Linked DNA regions of Homo sapiens: regions 2, 3 and 4 are each linked to region 1. Evidence: promoter capture Hi-C in 16 types of primary human blood cells and fetal thymus (Javierre and others, 2016). All regions are on one chromosome and are shown on one strand. The core of a region is centred on a gene start or on the middle of the fragment in contact, and the rest is flanking DNA. Distances in the headings are between cores, read along the strand shown.

Region 1 (3,230 bases), core at 514-3,013:
GCAGACCTGAAAGGGTGACAAGTACAGCTCTAGCAATTTTATTTTCTAGTTATAATAGAAGTTGCCAAAGGAAAGGTTCCGATCTGGAGGAACTTCATCAAACCTTTCTGAAACTCCACAGATGTACTGTAGCGAGAATCTCAGAACTAATTTGTGCATTTTCTTTTTTCTCCAGGAGAAATTCTGTATGAAAACCAACCTGCTCCAGGAAGCCAAGCCCCCCCCCCCCACTTTTTTTTGGTCCCCGAGTTTGTTTTTACTTCGCACTTTATTTGGATTTTTCTCTTTGCAGTTCACGCTCCTTTCCTCATTTCTTGGTCTCTCTTACTAATGAAATTTTCTCCTAGCTGTTTTTACGTGAATAAAGAAGCTCAATTACCTTTAATGCTGTAAGCAGTGCGAGGGGTCGGGGAGTGAGGGTGGCGGGAGGATCTAATGTTTTTGGTGGCTGTAAACGACATTGCAGAAAATTACGGTAATTTGTTAGGCCATTTATTCCCTCTTCACCAGTTTGGCAGTCTCATCTTCAGAGCAAAAGATACGGTGTGAGGCTGAAACTGGCGATAGAGTGGGATTGCTTTTGGGTAGGTAGGATGAAGTCTGGGGAGAATCGAGTCAGCTGGGCGAGGAGGAAAACAATTCACTACGGAGGCTTGGGAGGACACCTAAGGCGGTCAAACTGGCTGCACTAGCTGATGTTTCTCGGTTCCTCCCAGGTGTGGGGTGCTCTTGGTGGGGCAGCAGATACTATGATGTGGCTCTGGGGGCGCGAGGAAATGTTCCTTCCAGGTGGCTATCCTTTTTTTTTGAGACAGGGTTTTGCTCTGCCACCCAGGCTGGAGTGCAGTGGCACGATCTTGTCTCACCGCAGCCTCCACCTCCCAGGCCCAAGTGATTCTCCCACCTCAGCCCCCGAGTAGCTGGGACCACAGGCGGGCGCCGTGATGCCTGGCTAATTTTTTTTTTTTTTTAGACGGAGTTTTCGCTCTTGTTTCCAAGGCTGGAGTGCAATGGCGCGATCTCGGCTCACTGCACCTCCGCCTCCCGGGTTCAAGCGATTCTCTTGCCTCAGCCTCCCGAGTAGCTGGGATTACAGGCATGCGCCACCACGCCCGGCTAATTTTGTATTTTTAGTAAAGACGGGGTTTCTCCATGTTGGTCAGGCTGGTCTCAAACTCCCGATCTCAGGTGATTCGCCCGCCTGGGCCCTCCAAAGTGCTGGGAGTACAGGCGTGAGCCACCGCGCCCGGCCTTTGCTTGGCTAATTTTAAAATTTTTTGTAGAGACCGGGTCTCACTATGTTGCCCAGGCTGGTATCGAACTCCTGGACTCAAGTGATCCTCCCGCCTCGGTCTCCCAAAGTGCTGGGCATTACAAGTGTGAGCCTCCGCGCCTGGCCTGGCTACCCTTTACAGGATAGAGCTATACCTCGTAGCTTGATTGTCAGTACCTAACGTGGCGCCACGGCGAACTAGGGCAGGAATCTTATCTGTCCCCAGACTGCTAGCGGACTGGAGCTCCCCAGTCCAGGGGCTGTGTGGGTCTGGCCAACGCAAGCAGCAACTAGGCAGCATGCAGCTCCCGCCGGGTGCCCCAGGGGCCGCCGCGTGCCCCAGGGGCCGCCGCATCCAGACTCCGCGTGGGCGGAGCCTAGGTCCCTGGTCTGCGGGCCACGCATCCCGGCCGCTGCAGGGACTCCAGCCAATAGGGATGTGCGGCTGCCGTCCTGTCGACCAATCGCGGGGAGGGGAGGGCGTTAGCCAGCGTGGCGCTGGCTCCCGGAATATGGAGCCCTGGGCGCGGGGGCGGCGTGTCAGGTGGTTGCGGAGCTGGTAAGGTGAGGGGAAGGCAAGGTCAGGGGTCACGGCATTCCGCTCGCTGGCAGGGAGGGGCGCGGGGCGGCTCGAGGGCCTGTGTCGGGGGTCAGGCTCCGGGGCTAGGATGCGACACCGGCTCGCCGTGCGGGGCTGTGAGGGGAGGTGTGGCCAGGGAGGGCCTCAGGCCCAGAGTCCAGGACTGATGGAGTCGCGCCATTCAGAGAAAGACCCAAAGATGGGGGCAGGGAGGGAACGCCGGAGGTCGCGGGGGTCTCGCCCCTTCCCCGCCGCGGCCTAGGACACATGGCCCAGCTCCCAGCTGCACCGGATGGCGCGCCCGGCCTGTGTCGGGGTGCGCTGACCTGCTTCGACGCCTCGAAAGAGGCCGACGGGCACAGGGCAAGGTCTTTCGTGGCCTCTTCGTCGGCGCCGCAGGGGGCCGGGCTGCTCTCCGGGGCCTCCCGCCGCCCCGCTTCAACAAAAGACTCATTATAACCTAACCGACTTCAGGGAGCGCCTTCTGTGTGAATAGCCTGCATACGCGGCTCAGTAATTGTGGGTAGATTGGTTTTAAGGCTGTTTGTGTAGCTCTCAGGGACCCTCTGGATTCCAGGCTCCAATGAGCAGGGTTTTTCTACAGGGGGATATTGCACATATGTAAGTGGGCTGGATGGCTCTCCCAGCTGTGCGTTTCATGTGTCCCCACTTTTAAAGCTACCGCTTAAATGTGACATCTCTTGCAAAAGCAAAAATTATATGGAAGGAGAGTTTGCAAGGGGAGATAGGCTTCTAAAAACTTGCTGGCCTCAATTTTAGTGACTGTTGGTGAAAAATGGAGAAGCTATGTTTACACTGACTTCTGGAACCCGAAGCCCCACCAGTTCGCATGATTTCTTGGCTTTGTAAATCTTTGAGCATGTTGTTTGCCTCTTTCTTCTTTTGTTCCACGTACTTAAAATGGGGATTGATAATATCAGTCTTACAGGGTTGTTGGTATGAAATTAGTTAATAAACAACAAAGTACTTAGAACTCTTGATGTGGAGGAGTTTTTGTTGTTGTTACCTTCTTTCCCCTTAACACTTCTAAAGAATTCTAACCTTATTACTTATTCTTTGCTCAGAGTCTCATGACTTATCACCAGTGAACCCGCCGGCCTATACTTTCCATTGACATCATTAACTTTGATCTGAGGGTATAGTGTAGTTATATGTGACTAGAGGATTTCTGCTGCGTGTTTGTTTTATTAAATACGGTTGGAAACTATCATTATACTAGGTCATTTATTGTGATACCTGTGTTGGGTAAATGAAACCTGAAACCTTCGGCTGTTTATTTTTTCATTGGACAGTATTTCATTGACAGTCTTGCTTGGCCTACTCAGTTTATTTTGGAGCCAGTACTAAAAAGGCCAT
Region 2 (3,230 bases), core at 325-2,824, 340 kb before region 1:
GCGCCACCACACCTGGCTAATTTTTGTTTGTTTGTTTTTGGTTTTTTTGAGACGGAGTTTCGCTCTTGTTGCCCAGGCTGGAGTGCAATGGTGCAATCTCGGCTCACTGCAACCTCTGCCTCCCAAGTTCAAACGATTCACCTGCCTCAGCCTCCCGAGTAGCTGGGATTACAAGCATGCGTGCCCAGCTAATTTTGTATTTTCAGTAGAGACAGGGTTTCTCCATGTTGGTCAGGCTGGTCTCGAACTCCCAACCTCAGGTGATCCACCTGCCTCCGCCTCCCAAAGTACTGGGATTACAGCCATGAGCCAGCGCGTCTGGCCTAATTTTTGTATTTTTAATAGTGGCAGGGTCTCACCATGTTGGCCAGGCTGGTCTCAAATTCCTTGGCTCAAGTGATCCATCTGCCTTGGCCTCCCAAAGTGCTGGGATTACAGGAGTGAGCCACCGTGCCCAGCCAGAATAGAGCTATTGTTAATGCTCTGAGGATTTCAGACTAAATTACAGGGCCATGAACTAAAACTCTTCTTTGAAAGGAGCTGGAGGTCTCAGTAGAGACATCTTCCCTTCAAAAAGCTTTCCCCGCTCCTCAAATCCAGGAGATTTGGCCCTTCTTTGGGACCCACACCCCAGCACTACCTCTGTTAGATCATGGATCACCTGCCCTGGAATTGCCTGTTTCCTGGTCAGCCTTGCTTCTGGGTGGTTTGTTCCTTAGGACAAATGGTCAAGCCGGCTGGGCTCGCCACTGTGCCTGGTCCGTGGTAGGTGCTTGGTGCAAGTATTTTCTTAATATAATTAAAAAGCTGCTGGGCATGTTTTCACCTTAAAGAATTCTATCTGCAGAGGAGGTTACAAAGGGGATTAGAGTCAGATGTCCTGCTGCTGATCCAGCAAGCAAGGAGTCACCATTTGTGTATGCCCACCCATCGACGTTACCGTGAAGAGCCTGGGAGACAGGGAATCCTAGACACTGGAAAACAACCGTGCAATGGAGCTGTGGAATTGCAGCTCTGGAAGATGGTGGCTGAGAGGGTGGAGAAACTGAGGGAGGCATCTGAGAGCCTCTGTCAGAATTTTGTACTTGGGCCGGGCGTGGTGGCTCATGCCTGTAATCCCAGAACTTTGGGAGGCCAAGGCAGGCGAATCACTTGAGGCCAGGAGTACGAGACCAGCCTGGCCAATATGGTGAAATGCTATCTCTACTAAAAATGTAAAAATGAGCCAGGCATGGTTGCACACACCTGTAGTCCTAGCTACTCAGGAGGCTGAGGCAGGAGAATCACTTGAGCCCAGGAGGTGGAGGTTGCAGTGAGCCAAGATCACGCCATTGCACTCCAGCCTGGGTGACAGAATGAGACTCCATCTCAACAACAACAACAAAAAGTTTGTACTTGATACGTGACCACAGAAACACAACTCTGAGGTGCTGTCCCTGACATTAGAGAGGGTGCCCAGGTGAACAGGCATAGGATCTAGCACCACAGAGCCAGAGCCCTGGTGAGGCAGTTTTGACCACAGACAGGGCTTCTTTCTTCCTCTCCCCATCTTCCCTGTTAACCTCCTTCCCCAGCTCCGGCTTCTGTGGAATGGCTCAGTACAGCAGGTGTTGGGGGTTTAAAATTCAGGCCTGCTAGAGGCCTGAGAGCCCCTAGCTTGGTGCCCACAGGGGATTGGGTATACAGCAAAGTGGTGGACTGGCCACAATGACACTGTCCCTTCCAGAGCACCTAAAGGAGAAGCTGGAGCAGTACGTGAAGCAGCTGCAGGTGGTGAGGGTGGTGCGGCAGGAGGAGCGGAAGGGGCTGATCACCGCCCGGCTGCTGGGGGCCAGCGTGGCACAGGCGGAGGTGCTCACGTTCCTGGATGCCCACTGTGAGTACCAGGGCACCGGCCTGGGTGTAACCTGGAGGCTCCCTCCCTGCTAGAATGAGCCAGGGCCACAGCCTCCCCAAGGCCCCTTCCTGTTCTCTCTTCCGGGAGTGAAGGAGGCTTGGGACCCACTCCAGGTGCCTCTACCCCTTTCTCACCCCAATCCCAAGGATGTTTCATCAAGAAGACAAACATCCCTAAAACAACTGGTGACCCCAAAATCACTGGAAGTGATTTCCAGTGATCACCGGGGCCCCGGACATTCATCCCTCCCTGTACTCCCATCTGCACCTTGCTCTGAGCTTGGCCCCTCAGAGAGGCCTCCTGCTATGACAGAACTGGCTTGTTTGGGGCTTTCTTCTAGGGCAACATGGAGCCAGGAAGGCCTCCTTCTTGCCCAAAACCAAAACACTTCCCCACTGTTGTGGAGGATGAAATATTTTCCCTAGGAGTGGTGATATATATTAGGGGAAGCTCTAGTCTTGGAGTCAGAATTCTTGGTTTGCATTCTGACCCTGCCCCACTAACAGCCTCAGTTTCCTCATTTATAAAATAGGAATGAGGATACTAACCTTACTGAACAGAAATATTACTCTGAGGGCCGAATGAAGTAATAATACGTGCAGAAGCTCACTGAAAATCTCAAGGAGCTAGACAAATGAAAGAGATTATTCTTCTACAATTAGGGCTGAAGCTTGACATGCGGATGCCCCTGGGAGGGGGAACACCCTCTTCTGAAATCCACACGTGGGCCCGGAGGGCTGGGCCAATGGATCGGCTGGAACCCCGGAAGATACCATCCAGGGCCTCCCTGTGCTTTTGGGTCATCTGAGTTGACCATGTTACTCCCCTGAGACCTCCATTCTCCCTGCCAAAGCTGCCTCCGCCTTTGGGGGTAGAGGGGTGGTAGAAGGGTTTTAGGAAATTCTGTGTGCTCCCTGTAGCTGTGGGGCTTGCTGCCTGTAACCCAGGAGTAGGTGGACTGTCTCTTATCCTCCTGGGCATTCCCTCCAGGATGCAGCTTGGGCTCTGCTGTGGGCAGGGCCCTGACTGCTGCCTCCTGGTTGGGGCCTGCAGGTGAGTGCTTCCACGGCTGGCTGGAGCCCCTCCTGGCTCGAATCGCTGAGGACAAGACAGTGGTGGTGAGCCCAGACATCGTCACCATCGACCTTAATACTTTTGAGTTCGCCAAGCCCGTCCAGAGGGGCAGAGTCCATAGCCGAGGCAACTTTGACTGGAGCCTGACCTTCGGCTGGGAAACACTTCCTCCACATGAGAAGCAGAGGCGCAAGGATGAAACCTACCCCATCAAGTAAGGACCGCAGCCTGGTGAGCCCCCAACCTGGCCCCAGTCCTA
Region 3 (3,230 bases), core at 241-2,740, 290 kb after region 1:
TGCCTTGGCCTCACAAAGTGTTGGGATTATAGCCATGAACCACCACACCTGGCGCTATATTTGCCTTATTACACATTAATACATAAAATTAGTCTCAGTTCTAGTCCCTTTTCTGTTATTTACCCATCAAGAATAACATGACAAAGTTGCCATCTGGGTAGAGAAGAGAATACAAGGTTATTGTTTGGAAAAAAAAAAAAAAAAAGAAAGAAAAAAAATGGTATAGAATATAGAGACAGAAAAACAGAAGGTCAGACCGGGCGCGGTGGCTCATGTCTGTAATCCCAGCACTTTGGGAGGCTGAGGCGGCTGGATCACTTGAGGTCAGGAGTTTGAGACCAGCCTGGTCAACAGGGCGAAACCCTGTCTCTACTAAAAATACAAAAAATAGCCGGGCGTGGTGGTACACGCCTGTAATCCCAGCTACTCTGGAGGCTGACGTGAGAGAACCGCTTGAACCCAGGAGGTGGAGGTTGCAGTAAGCTGAGACTGCACCACTACACTCCAGCTGGGGTGACAGAGCAAGGCTCCGTCTCAAATAAAAAAAAAAAGAAAAAGGAAAAACAGGTCAGATACAAGTAAAATCCAAATAGGACTCAAATCTTTGTGACTCGTCATCATGACCACACGACGATGACTCAAGTAAACACCAACACTGCGCTCACTGTCAGCACTGCTCCAAGAACTCCGAGTTGGCAGCTCAGTGATTGTGCAAGCTGCCTGGGGAAGCACAGTACTGCTACCTTCACCTTACAGATGAGCAAAATGAGACACAAAGAAATCGAGATTTAAAAGCCCGAAGTTCCAAAGCAAGTAAGTGCGGCTGGGGCCCAAGCCCAGGCAGCCTGGCTCCAAAGCCCATGCTCTGGGATACTCCATATTCCTCTCCCATTTGTCAACAGACAAGATTTCATGAGGGTCACCTGTAAACATATTGCTACATTGACTCTTGATCCAAAAGTGGTGCTGACAGCCCGCGGGGACAGCCCGATGTCTTTGAAGAGCTTAGAGAAGGACTGCTGGAGTGCAACGCGGGGCCTCTCCTCCGCCACCACCACACAGGTCCGGACGCAGGAGAGGTTGATCCCTCTGGTCTGCAAGACACCATTATATGGGAGCCAAGTCAGTAGGATCATAAAAGAACTGAACAGGTAAGGCCACTGTTCTAGCTCCTTGGTCAGGAAAAGCCAAGCAATTGTGTATTCTCACCTCAGGCACACAGAGAAAAAAGCAGCTTTCAGAAAAGAAGAAACGGACAAGGCATCCCATTAAAATCACTATCTGCTGGTAAATTTGCTCATTCTCTAGTTCTTTCCTCTTTCTTCTAAAAATCTAAGGCTCTTCAGCAATGTTTTTATCCCTCCTCATTTCTGTACCTTAGATGTCCCCCTATTTGATGAGACTGAGAGAAAAATTAATCTAGAACTCTGGCGATCTAATCTCATCTCTTTTTGCATTCCAAAGATATTTTTCTATCAAAGAAAATTCAGTATCTTCTGACTTTCTCATCTGCAAGTCAGACAGATCATCATTTGACACACACATGAATCAATGAGTTACCCTTATCTTTGGAGATATTCTGAATTCCTAATATTTTGAGGTTTCAAATTCTATTAGGAAAAAAAAGTATTGGAAGCCACAGTTCCCTTTTATGTTTACATAAAGTCTTTCCAGTTAGCCTCCCAACCAGTTTCCGCTTCTTGTCCACAAAGTAAGAATCATATTAAACTGTGGAAGAGTGCACTAAATTAGGAAGGTGGAAGAGATAAACTTGCCAAAGTTTAAAATACACCCTTTTTTAACTGAGTGACTTGAAAAAGGCAAGCAAACATGTCTGTTAGCCCCTGCTCTGGCCCTGTTACGTCCTGGCGCATTTCTTCAGAACCTTTTGGGACTGGCCACCTGCTGGAGCTGCTTCTTACCTTTAGCACTTCCACTTGGTTCCCAAGACCTTTGGTGCAGAGCTCCATCACTGAATAGGAGCAGAAAGTGTCCCTTATTTTGTACTGGTTGACTGTGGAGAGCCAGAGGAAAAGGTTGTTCTCTAACTCCATAGGAGGAATTAAGACAGACTGGTGGCCTGAATAGACACTGCAGTGAAAGAGACAAGAGCTGGAATCATCAATTCATCCTGGATACCTGATGCTTCAGAACCCCACCAATTCCACAGATATTTACTGAGTGTAAAGGACAGTGTAGGGACATATGAGATATAAAGCTCTAAGAATCAGTCTTGTTCCTATGCAACTCGCAAAAGGAGCAACTATGAAATAAAGCAGACTGTGGTAGGTCACTTAAGTCTACATAACATTCTTACAGCTGCCCTCAAGCTAATTAATATGGTCAAGATGATACTAAACATTCTGGAAAGGTAATTCCTAATAACTAATCTTTAAAACCCTGATGGAGTAGCATTTTTTCCTCTTTCTATTCAGAAACCTTATGTGTGGACTGGATTTTATTCCTATGGTTTCTTTTAAAGATGTTTATAGCCATTTTATTGATGCTCTGAATATGAGATGTGAATCAAGAACACTGACATCACAGAATAAAGAGCAGTTCATTCAAGCTCGATAAGCCAGGGTAGGGGAGTGGTAGTGCTTCACTGAGCTGGTGACACTTGAGCTGCAGCTTGAAGAATGAGTATGAATTTGGCAGTGGCCAGAAGAAGTGGGGACGGTAGTGAGGGTGTTCTAAGCAGAGGAACAACATTTACAAAGGCCGATAATTACAGCATGTTTGAAGCGATCAGAAATATTAATAGTATTCAAGTGGCCAGGCACGGTGGCTCACGCCTGTAATCCCAGTACTTTGGGAGGCCATGATGGGAGGATCGCTGGAGCCCAGAAGGTGAAGACCAGCCTGGGTAATAGAGCAAAACTCATGCCTCTACAAAAAAAATTTTTTTAACAATTAGCCAGGCGTGGTGGCACACACCTGTAGTCCCAGCTACTTGGGAGGCTGAGGTGGGAGGATCACTTGAGCCCGAGAGGCTGCAGTGAGCTGTGATTTGTGCCACTGCACTCCAGCCTGGGTGACAGATTGAGACCCTGTCTCCTTTAAAAAAAAAAAAAAAAGAGAGAGAGAGAAAGAAAGAAACAAAAAAAGAAAGAGAGAGAAAGAAAAAGAAGAAAAAGAAAGAGTATTCAACTGAAATCGTAGCATACAGGGTGAATGGAGAAGTAAGGCCAGAAGGGCTAAGGCCAAACTGTGAAAGGGCTTAACCATCC
Region 4 (3,230 bases), core at 286-2,785, 260 kb before region 1:
GGGAGGCTGAGGCAGGAGAATCGCTTGAACCCAGGAGGCAGAAGTTGCAGTAAGCCAAGATTGTGCCACGTTGCACTCCAGCCTGGCAACAGAGCAAGACCCTGTCTCAAAAAAAAAAAAAAAGATCTAGGATAGATTATCTCCAGTCAGGTACATTGTAGAGAGGATTATGGTGAAATGTCTGACTAGATGGCAACAAGATTTATTCATTCTACAATTACTTACTGAGCCCCTACAGTGTGCCTGGGACTTTTCTAGGAGGTGGGGTATGACAGTGAACAAAACAAAATACCCTGCCTTCCTGAGGCTTATATTTTAGTGCGGAAGACAGACAAAAAAAAAGAATAAATAAAATTACAATCTAGTAATGATAAGTGATATGAAGAAAAATTAAGTAGGGAAGGACACAGGGAGTGGGAGCTGAGTTGCAAGTTTATAGAGCAGTCAGCGGTGACATGTGAGCAATGAAGAAGGCTAGCACATGAGCCATGTGTATATCCGGGAGAAGTGTGTGAGATTTCTGACACTCGTTAGATCACACCACCCTACTACTGCCTGTGTCTGACCAAGGCTACCTCGGGAGCCTCCTGATATCTGAGAGGAGCTAATATGGACCAAGGGCACAGGGATGGCCCCCAGGTGGAAGGTGTGGGACTCTCTCCTCCATTGTTCACTTTGATTCACAGGTTGCTTCAGAGCCTGGAGAGGCAAAGAAGATGGAAGACAAGGAAAAGGATAATAAGCTTATCTCAGCTAACTCCTCGGAGGTACTAAAAGCCTAAGTCATCTACATGATGATGCCCTATTTTTTTGTACATTAAAATTTATTTTTCTTTTTCCAGAAGTATATCTTTCAGAGGCCTTCAGTCTTGATTCACATGAAGCACTGAGGGCCCTAACAGAGCAAGATGTAAAACTTGTCCTGGCCGGGCGCGGTGGCTCATGCCTGTAATCCCAGCACTTTGGGAGGCAGAGGCGGGCGGATTCCCAGGTCAGGAGATCGAGATCATCCTGGCTAACACGGTGAAACCCCGTCTCTACTAAAAATACAAAAAATTAGCCGGGTGTGGTGGCGGGTGCCTGTATTCCCAGCTACTCGGGAGGCTGAGGCAGGAGAATGGCATGAACCCGGGAGGTGGAGCTTGCAGTGAGCCGAGATTGCGCCACTGCACTCCAGCCTGGGTGACAGAGCGAGACTCCGTCTCAAAAAGAAAAAAAAAAAAAACTTTTCCTAGGCCGGGTGCAGTGGCTTACGCCTGTAATCCCAGCAGTTTGGGAGGCCGAGGTGGGCGGATCACCTGAGGTCAGGAGTTCGAGAGTTTGAGACCAGCCTGGTCAACATGGTGAAACCCCATTTCTACTAAAAATACAAAAATTAGCCGGGCATGGTGGCATGTGCCTGAAATCCCAGCTACTGAGGAGGCTGAGGCAGGAGAATTGCTTGAACCCAGAAGGCGGAGGTTGCAGTGAGCCGAGATCTCGCCATCGCATTCCAGCCTGGGCAACAAGAGTGAAACTCTGTCTCAAAAAAAAAAACAAAAAAAAACAACTTTTCCTTAAGTCAGGCTCACTGATGCAAGCCTGTAATCCCAGCTACTCAGGATGCTGAGGCGGGAGGATCACTTGAGCCCAGGTGTTCGACACTGTAGTATGCTACGATCACACCTGTGAATAGCCACTGCACTCCAGCTTGGGCAACATAGTGAGATCCCATCTCTTTAAAAAAAATTTAATAAAAAGATTTGGGTGCAGTGCCTCAACCTCCCAAGGTGGCTGTAATCCTAGCACTTTGTTGGGGGCTGAGGCAGGTGGATCACTTGACCCCAGGAGTCTAAGATCAGCCTGGGCAACATAGGAAAAACCCATCTCTACAAAAAATACAAAAATTAGCCAGGCGTAGTGTCACATGCCTGTGGCCCCAGCTACTTGGGAAGCTGAGGTGGGATCACCTGAGCCCAGGGAGGTCAAGGGTACAGTGAGCCATGATCACGCCACTGCACTCCAGCCTGGGCAACAGAGTGAGACCCCATCTCAAAAAAAGATTTTTTAAATAATAAAAATGACTTTTCCTTGGTCAGTTTCTAGTCTGAGGCAGCTGTGCTGATGGAGAGAGATAGGCAGGACATGTGGAGAGTGAATAAGTGCAGGATAGATGCGGGGTTTTGAGTAGGTAAGCATAGCCACTTCTCATTTTTCTGCACTGAAAAGAGCAACTCAATGGTTGAATTGATTTCAATTTGATTTTATAATGTATTATATGATTTTAGATGGAGACAGTAATAGAGTGACTTTTTGATTGCCTCTGGGGAATGATAAAACAAGCTTGCATTCTTGGAGTCATCTTTTTGAAGGGAGGAGTTTATAGGAGCCAAGACTCTTTCTGACCATTTTAAGAAACAGGCTAGTAACACTGTCCTCCCTGGAAAAGAGGTACAGGATACACTCTCCTTCCGCCTGAGTCTGTCTCCTTATATTTTAGATTTATAATATTTCCTTACTCTTAGCCTCTCTGGTGGGATTGCTTTGGTCATCAGCTAAGGAGAAATATTTTTCCTGTAGAATTAAGCAACTAGAGCATCTTAGATCCTAGCCTATTCGTGTCATCAATCCTCTGAAGCCTGTGTATGCTCACTTCCCTTGCAGATGCATTATAAATCATATTTTCTCTCAGGCAGAATTATGGACATGTCACATGTAAAAATGGGTAAATATAAATATAACTGGGAAAAAACATAGCCATTTTTGAAAAAAAATTACTGGGAAAAAATCTGTTCTTGCTTACCATTTGAATCATCTCAGAGAGATGGAAGGTTTTGATAACTTTCCGGGAGGTGATGTAACATCACCTCTGAGCTAATTCATGACCTGGAAAGGGAGGAGGGAGTAAAAAGAAAGAAAATGTCCTTGAAGGAGAAATCTTGGAATTTCAAGTGGCTATCACACTGTTAGAAATTGGTTCTGTTGGCCAGGTGCCATGGCTCACACCTGTAATCCCAACACTTTGGGAGGCTGAGGGGAGTGGATCACTTGAGGTTGGGAGGTTGAGACCAGCCTTGCTAACATAGTGAAGCCTCATCTCTACTAAAAGTCAGGCATGGTGGTGGGCGCCTGTAATCCCAGCTACTTGGGAGACTGAGGCAGGAGAATCGCTTGAACCTGGGAGGTGGAGGTTGCAGTGAACCAAGATCACGCCACTGCACTCCAGCCTGGGTGACAGAGCCAGATTCCTT

Evidence for each region. The method cuts DNA at HindIII sites, captures the fragments that hold promoters and counts their contacts. A CHiCAGO score of 5 or more calls a contact.
Region 2: a fragment that was not itself captured here is called in contact with the fragment with the promoter of SLC11A2 in region 1 in 1 of 17 cell types (megakaryocytes); the score reaches 6.9 in megakaryocytes.
Region 3: a fragment that was not itself captured here is called in contact with the fragment with the promoter of SLC11A2 in region 1 in 1 of 17 cell types (megakaryocytes); the score reaches 5.4 in megakaryocytes.
Region 4: a contact is called between a fragment that was not itself captured here and the fragment with the promoter of SLC11A2 in region 1, in 1 of 17 cell types (megakaryocytes). The highest score is 5.4, in megakaryocytes.

The regions. Positions count from the first base shown.
Region 1 is chr12:51,024,917-51,028,146 of GRCh38, reverse strand. It overlaps SLC11A2 (solute carrier family 11 member 2), which reads left to right and starts at 1,763. Exons shown (of 16, transcript NM_000617.3): 1 at 1,763-1,837. RefSeq lists silencers at 1,383-2,102, 2,113-2,172 and enhancers at 1,578-2,189, 2,190-2,803. The HindIII fragment of the contact is 11,669 bases long and covers 1-3,230 here.
Region 2 is chr12:51,364,076-51,367,305 of GRCh38, reverse strand. It overlaps GALNT6 (polypeptide N-acetylgalactosaminyltransferase 6), which reads left to right. Exons shown (of 12, transcript NM_007210.4): 5 at 1,727-1,876; 6 at 2,951-3,185. Among named protein-coding and RNA genes, the nearest start is that of CELA1, 19 kb to the right of the region's middle. The HindIII fragment of the contact is 1,990 bases long and covers 580-2,569 here.
Region 3 is chr12:50,730,230-50,733,459 of GRCh38, reverse strand. It overlaps DIP2B (disco interacting protein 2 homolog B), which reads right to left. Exons shown (of 38, transcript NM_173602.3): 31 at 1,923-2,091; 32 at 924-1,094. Among named protein-coding and RNA genes, the nearest start is that of ATF1, 32 kb to the left of the region's middle. The HindIII fragment of the contact is 4,800 bases long and covers 1-3,230 here.
Region 4 is chr12:51,285,645-51,288,874 of GRCh38, reverse strand. It overlaps BIN2 (bridging integrator 2), which reads left to right. Exons shown (of 13, transcript NM_016293.4): 11 at 687-767. Among named protein-coding and RNA genes, the nearest start is that of SMAGP, 17 kb to the right of the region's middle. The HindIII fragment of the contact is 1,579 bases long and covers 746-2,324 here.